2 separate regions of the Homo sapiens genome follow, and region 1 is linked to region 2. Evidence: promoter capture Hi-C in 16 types of primary human blood cells and fetal thymus (Javierre and others, 2016). All regions are on one chromosome and are shown on one strand. Each heading gives the region's core, a stretch centred on a gene start or on the middle of the fragment in contact. The rest is flanking DNA. Distances are from core to core; before and after follow the strand shown. Region 1 has its middle 15 kb from the start of PTPN2. Region 2 holds the start of PRELID3A (PRELI domain containing 3A).

Region 1 (3,783 bases), core at 731-3,230, 490 kb before region 2:
TGTGACATTCTGCAGATGCCAAGAAGATCAAGACCCTGGTGGGCTATGTTGGGACAGAAAGTAGAGGTTCTGGGGCAAGACAGTGAGTGTGATGAATGTTGTTCATTCCAAGTAAAAACTAACTATTTTGATCCTCTTTATTGGCAGATATTGAGAAGTATGATATTAATGGTTCAGTAGCCACATAACAAGCTTTGGAAACTGTGTTGATTGTTCATACCATATACCACATTGTGTAGTCCATGCTACAGTCCATACAACCTATGATTGGGGCTCTATTTATTTATTATTATTATTATTTTTATTTTTATTTTTTGAGATGGAGTCTCGCTCTGTTGCCCAGGCTGGATCGCAGTGGCCTGATTCTGGCTCACCGCAACCTCCACCTCCCGGGTTCAAGCAATTCTCCTGCCTCAGCCTCCTGCATAGCTGGGACTACAGGTGTGCGCCACCATGCCTGGCTAATTTTTGTATTTTTAGTAGAGCCAGGGTTTCACTATGTTGGCCAGGCTGGTCTCAAACTCCTGACCTCGTGATGCACCCACCTCGGCCTCCCAAAGTGCTAGAATTACAGGTATGAGTTACCGCGCCAAGCCTATTTATTCATTTATTTGTTTATTTTTGAGACAGAGTCTCGATCTGTCACCCAGGCTGGAGTGCAGTGGCACGATCTCTGCTCACTGCAACCTCTGTCTCCCAGGTTCAAGCAATTCTCCTGCCTCAGCCTTCTGAGTAGCTGGGACTACAGGCGTGCACCACCACAGCTGGCTAATTTTTGTATTTTTAGTAGAGACGGGGTTTCACCATGATGGCCAGGCTGGTCTCGAACTCCTGACCTCAGGTGATCCGCCCGCCTCAACCTCCCAAAGTGCTGGGATTACAGGTGTGAGCCACCGCGCCCAGCAGGGCTCCATTTAGTTAGGTTTACAGTAGTCCACCCTTATCTGCCATGATCTGTGTAATTTTTGTAAGGGCCACTTGGGTAAATTGAAGGGGACTGCCACCCTCCATCCTTGAAGTTGCTTATGGTGGTGCTACTCTCTGCAATTCCTTCTAGTATTGCTTCTGATTTTTCAGGGACTTCTCTCCTGTGTCTTCCCCCCTATGTCTAGATGTCTAGAAATCATTGTAAGGTTTCTGCCAACTACTAGGTATATATCTATCCTAATTATACATGTGGGAGCTGAGAAAATAACCACAGGCCATGTTCCTGGACCCAGTGGACCCACTGCAGGGTATACTTGGGTCAGAACTCCATGTATCATCTGCCCTTCAAAAGCTCTGAGTGTAACTGGAGGAACATAACAGGATTTCAGGTCCCGTGGTATCTGAAGTTTCAACTCAGATTTTCTATCCATTTCCTTGGCACCATTGGGCTGCTAGGTGGCTGTAGGTTCCATTGGTGAAGGACTAGGGTAATAGTTATCATCTGTATTTTTAGTGGTGGTGCAGAGTCTTTCATTACAGAGAACTGGCAGGCTTCCCTTCAATCAATGTGCATTAGATCTGTGAACTGACTTAGCTTTGGAAATTGAATGAAGGATTGTGATTTTCCATTGCAGTGGCTAATTTCAAACTTCAGCTTCCCAGCACTTCTTTTTTTTTTTTTTCAAATTGTCCAAGTCAAGTCACAACCTAATTGTTGTTCACCCGTCTCAGCCCCTGGAACAGAGCCCACAGATCCTAGCAGGTCACAGCAGCGTAACTGCCATGCTGGCCTTGCTGCCCATGATACTAACTTCATTCCCCTTCTGCTGCTGCCTCCTCTCTGCGATTTCAGAATCCCGTCATGCCCATTGATACCTGGCATCCATTGGCAGGATCTTCCACTGGCCGGCTCTGGCCTACAAAGGACAATTCCTACCAAGCTTCTCAAAGATGGTCATGCCTCCCTCACCAGTGGGTCTTTGTGCTTTATGAAGGGAGTCTCCTCTGAGTCTTCCCAAAGAACACAGCCGGGAAGTGGGTTCTCTGATACCACATACTAAGCCTATTCTAATGTCTAATTTCCCTGAGCTCGTCTAGTATTCTGCCAAGGAAATTAAAGCATCCTCACCTCATTCATTGTAGGTCATCTTCCTGCCCAAGCTTCAGGAAACTATCCGAGCAGTGGATGAGAAGTGGATTCAGATGCCCTGACTAGGACTCCCAAACCAAGGGGTATATTCCTATATCAATAAATCCTTCTCTACCCATCCTTATATTTGCATCTTCCTTGGCCCAACATCTTAAGCTTTATAATTGCCCATTTTCCTCTCCTTCCTGTTGGTCCACATTAGACAGGTCTTACAATTCTTAGGATATATAAGATTTCTGCCTGGAGTTTGGACTGTTTACCTAAGCTGTGTTGGGATCAGACCCTGCTTCTTAGTATGGAGGTAACAAGTGGTGGCAGGGGTTGCTTTTGGGGAGTTAGTGGCTAAAACTGAGTTTCCTTGCCCTTTGAGACACTTTCTCATGTGAGGGCTTCTGTGAATCTAGTAAGAATGGGGGCGCACATCTGCTGGCCTGGGGGAGCCAAAAAAACCTGGGGTTGCAAGGTTCTCAGGCTGGTCCAAGTCCACCCAGGTATTTCTCAAGTCAATGATTTGAGGACGAGACCATTTATGGCTATGCATTCATGCTCCTTTGCATCTCTGTTTTCCTAATAACACAGTGCTGTGCCTGATTTTCATCCACACATTCTACGAATAAAATGAGCGTCTCCATGAATGCAGTTATGGAGCCGCTTTGCTTCCACAACCTGCCTCAAGCTGACAGTTGCAGGTGGAAACCTGTTTGACTTTTTTTTCAAGACGTCCAGAGCATTTAACAAAGACCAGGAACCTCCAAAATCGTTATAGTTCCCCTCGCCCCAATACCACTTAGGTGTCAGAGCTGCCACATGCCCAGTGCTTTACCTTCCACCTGCACCTCATCCCAAGCCACCAGGGTGAGATCCTTAGCAATCGTGATGTTACCAGATGCCACTCACTCCAGCCTCGTGTTTCTTAGCTCTGTGTTTTCCAGCTCCAAAATCCCATCCTGAGAATCTGCTTCCTAGGCCCATGTCTGTGACTAATTACCTTAGCCTGAGTTCCCTGAAAGCAGACCCTGAGACCAAGGCTTGTTGCAAGGACTTTATTTGGGAAAGCGCTTCTAGAGAGCAGCAGTGCAGGGAAGGAGGATGAACAGGTGAGGAGGAAAAGCAAACATAAGAAAGCCTTGTCACGTCCATCACCAGACACAAATGACGCTTGTTCACACTGAGACTGACTTACTTTTTCTTTCTTCCTTTCTTTCTTTCTTTCTTTCTTTTCTTTCTTTCTTTCTCTCTTTCTTTCTCTCTCTCTCTCTCTCTCTCTCTGTCTCTCTCTCTCTCTCTCTGTCTGTCTGTCTCTCTCTCTCTTTTTCTTTTTAAGACAGAGACTCACTCTGTCACCCAGGCTGGAGTGCAATGGCACGATCTTGGCTCACTGCAACCTTCGCCTCCTGGGTTCAAGAGATTCTTCTGCCTCAGCCTCCTAAGTAGCTGGGATTACAGGTGCCTGACACCACACCCAGCTAATTTTTGTATTTTTAGTAGAGATGGGGTTTCACCATGTTGGTCAAGCTGGCCTCAAAGTCCTGATCTTAGGTGATCCACCCGCCTTGACCTCCCAAAGTGCTGGGATTACAGGCATGAGTCACCACGCCCGGCCCCCACTGGGACTTTCTAAGGAGCCATGAGAAATGCATCCGAGAATCGGCCACCTGGAGGCTCGGTGCAGTGGCTCACATTTATAATCCCAGCACTTTGGGAGG
Region 2 (3,725 bases), core at 1,123-3,622:
TGGATAGCTGCCCCTGTCCTGGAAGGACATCTGATCTCCATGTAAGATTCCTCACCCCTTCCGAGCACCTGCTAGGCGCCGGGCCCCGGCGGGGTGCCAGGAATACAAAATGAATGATGGGAGAAATGAAATACTGACACTCTACCACATGGTGAGCCTCAAGAAAATCATGCTAAGTGAAAGCAGACAGACACAAAACACCCCATATTGCAGGATGACATTTACATGCAATGTCCCAACAAGGCAAATTCATAGAAACAGAAAAGATTCCTGGTTGCCTGGGGCAGGGGTGAAAATGGGGTAAAATGTGAAGCTAATGAGCATGGGGCACCTCTGCAGGAGGACAGAAGTGTTCTAAGACTGGACTGTGTGTGTGATGGTCATACTTAGCAAAACTTAATGAATTATACACTTAAAATGTGTATAATTTTATGGTATGTAAAGTATCCTTCGGTAAAGCTTAAAAAAAATAAATGGGAGTTAGCAGCTGCAACAATTTTCAAAAGCATCAACTGTGATTTTTCACAGCTAGCTATTCATTTGTGCTTGTCCACAGACATTTCACAAACCTCTAGGGCAGACCTCGGCCATTCCATGAGAAAACTGAGCCCCAACCACCTGGCACTCCTGGTATGCAATGACTTAACTGTCCACAGCATCCAGACGGCTCAGTGATGCCCCCATCCTTGTTGCTGATGGAAACCCACTTGAGAAACACTGCAAGCCATACAAAAAATTAGATCCCATCAAGTCTAAAGACTTCATGAAAAATAATTTCAGAGGTTTTGAAACCACTTGATATATTTTTATTATAATTTTACATGTTTAAAGTCAGGCCAGTCACGGTGGCTCACACCTATAATCCCAGCACTTTGGGAGGCCGAGGCGGGTGGATCACCTGAGGTCAGGAGCTCGAGACCAGCCTGGCCAACATGGCGAAACCCTGTTTCTACTAAAAATACAAAAATTAGCCGGGCGTGATGGCCCACACCTGTAGTCCCAGCTACTCAGGAGGCTGAGGCACGAGAATCACTTGAACCCAGGAGGGGGAGGTTACAGTGAGCCAAGATCGCGCCATTGCACTCCAACCTGGGTGACCCAGCGAGCCTATGTCTCAAAAAAAAAAAAAAAAAAAAAAAAACCCAGCCTGGGTGACAGAATGAGACTCTGTCTCGAAAAAAATAAATAAAAAGAGTCAAAGGATGACAATTTCCTTCCACGCAGTACTTTTTTTCCCCCCAAAATAAAATATTTAATGCTTAAGTGAGGTCAGATAATTAAAAAATCTTTGTTGCTGTAAATAAACATTAAAGAATAATTTCAGTGTGTCACAGATCACTGACTTAAGGAAAAGATACCACTTAGGTTAGGAGGGCACTTTTTTCTTCTTTTTATTTGCACAATTCTATGGAGTATATGTGCAATTTCGTTACATGCATAAATTTCGTAGTGGTCAAGTCAGGACTTCTAGGGTATGCATTACCCGGGAAGGTGTCTTGCACCCATTAAGCAATTCTCATTATCCTCCCTGCACCCACCCCCTCACCCTTCAGAGTCTCCATCATCTGACGTTCCACTCTCCACATCCATGTGAACACATTCTTAAGCACCCACTTAGGAGTGGGAACATGCGATACTTGTCTTTCTGGGCCTGGCTTCACTTAAGATAATGACCTCCACTTCCATCCGTGTGCCGGGGGAGCATTTTTAAACAGTTCGAGGTTTTCCACGCTAGCTTGGAGGCCTTCCATGCCTACAAGTGAGTTCAGAGCCAGGGCCCCCGAAATGCCTTCTGCCCCTTTAGCTTCCTCCAGAGCTCACAGCCCGCCGTGGGCCCTCCGTGAAACGCGCGGAAGGTTTATGACAATCTCAGCAAAGGCGCCAGCTTGCAGGCCTCTCCCCTGCCCTGCTCCCGACCCCAAGGAGAGCAGCGAGCGCCAGGCCCCCGGCCGCCCCCCCGGCTCCGGCCGCCCCCGCCCCGGCCGCCCCCGCTCCGGCTGCCCCCGCCCTGGCTGTCGACCACCAGCGGGGCCTCTGTGCCTGCAGCCAGGCCCCTGCGCACGCCGGGGGAGAGGCCGTACCCGGCGCAGAGCCTCGCCCAGACCGCGGTCCCGGGGAAGCGCGCGTGCCCTCTCCGGGACGCCGAAGTTGCGGTCTGGGAACGGCCGGCGCGGGGCGGGGATCTCCGCGAGGCCCGCTGTGAGGTCCGGCCTTTCCTGGACCGCTCCAGCCGGGCTCGGGAGCAGGAGCCGGCGTCTGGACGGCCCCACCGCGGCCCTCAGCCCGGCCTCACCCAAACACGTGCTCCGAGCTCCAGATCTTCATTGCCGCCGGCGCAGGGCGCGGGCTCTGCGATCCGGGCCGGGTGCTTCGGGCCGCGCGGCTCCGGGCGCGGCGTGGGCGGGGCCTCGATGGGCGGGGCGCCCTTGGATGCCGCCCACCCCGTCTGGTGGCTAGGCTGGCTGCAGCGGCTAAAAATAGCTCTGCGGGCGCGGCTGTGGCGCAGCCCCAGACCTGCGCTGCTACCCTGGGGTGCGCGATGCGCGCTTGCTGCAGATGCCGCGGGCGTAGGAGGCGACGCTCGTCCTTACTCCCACTGTCCAAATTCTCCCAAGGCCCTGTCCAGCTACGCCGGTTTGTACTGTCGGGGACGTGTGATGAAAAACAAACCTGCCAACCCTCAAAACTCCACTGCAGTTTGGGTCTTGAACAAACATTAAACCAGCATGTGAGGCCGGGCGCGGTGGCTCACGCCTGTAATCCCAGCACTTTGGGAGGCCGAGGCGGGCGGATCACGAGGTCAGGAGATCAAGACCATCCTGGCTAACACGGTGAAACCCCGTCTCTACTAAAAATACAAAAAATTAGCCGGGCGTGGTGGCGGGCGCCTGTAGTACCAGCTGCTCGGGAGGCTGAGGCAGGAGAATGGCGTGAACCCGGGAGGCGGAGCTTGCAGTGAGCCGAGATCCCGCCACTGCACTCCAGCCTGGGCAACAGAGCGAGACTCCGTCTCAAACAAAACAAAACAAAACAAAACAAAACAAAACAAAACCAGCATGTGATGTGCATCACAAGCAATCCGCCAAATAGGCTGCAAAGACAGAAATCTCAGCCTGTATCAAACAGCCGGGAGGATGCAACCTACCCCACGCATGCTCCCGAGGTAAACGAGACAGCCCTCCGGGGAGGGGACTCCACTACACCATTTGTCGCAGAGTTCATCCTAAATTCGCCTGATGATGGAGTGGCCATTGGTAAATGCAGTGGCCATTTGCGTTTGCTAATTGCCTTTATCCAAAGGAAAAATGAATTTTCATACCTTTATGACAGGAGGTAGGTTTACAATTTGAAGCCAGGTGCTCTCTGGTAGCTGGGCTCCTACCCTCCCACAAAACTGGGAGACGGGGATGACATTTCAAAGAGATGACTCCCAAGTCCTTGAGAAAATACATTCTTGAGTTATAAAACTGGGGGGAAATCTTATTTAGCTTTAAAAAAATGTACGTGTATCTCAAAAAGAATTTGTGATTACAACTTGGCAAATCCTCTAAGGAAAAAGAGTCTCCCTTTCGCATAAACTACTTTTTAGCTTTGCAAAGTACCCTGCACTGCCACAAACGAAGTTGAAGTGCACGGAAGTGAGATGCTTGTTCTAAGAAGAGGGTACTCTTCTCCAGGATGAGATAGGGCGAGAGGGCAGGGCCCTTGTCTGAGTCGGCTGAGTC

The links. The method cuts DNA at HindIII sites, captures the fragments that hold promoters and counts their contacts. A CHiCAGO score of 5 or more calls a contact.
Region 1: a fragment that was not itself captured here is called in contact with the fragment with the promoter of PRELID3A in region 2 in 4 of 17 cell types (endothelial precursors, non-activated CD4 T cells, total B cells and 1 more); the score reaches 6.6 in endothelial precursors.

Annotation. Positions count from the first base shown.
Region 1 is chr18:12,897,471-12,901,253 of GRCh38, reverse strand. No RefSeq gene overlaps it. Among named protein-coding and RNA genes, the nearest start is that of PTPN2, 15 kb to the right of the region's middle. The HindIII fragment of the contact is 220 bases long and covers 1,871-2,090 here.
Region 2 is chr18:12,406,576-12,410,300 of GRCh38, reverse strand. It overlaps PRELID3A (PRELI domain containing 3A), which reads right to left and starts at 2,372. Exons shown (of 7, transcript NM_001142405.2): 1 at 2,294-2,372. The coding sequence starts at 2,325. RefSeq lists enhancers at 1,545-1,794, 1,652-2,311, 2,312-2,973 and a silencer at 1,995-2,574. The HindIII fragment of the contact is 9,540 bases long and covers 462-3,725 here.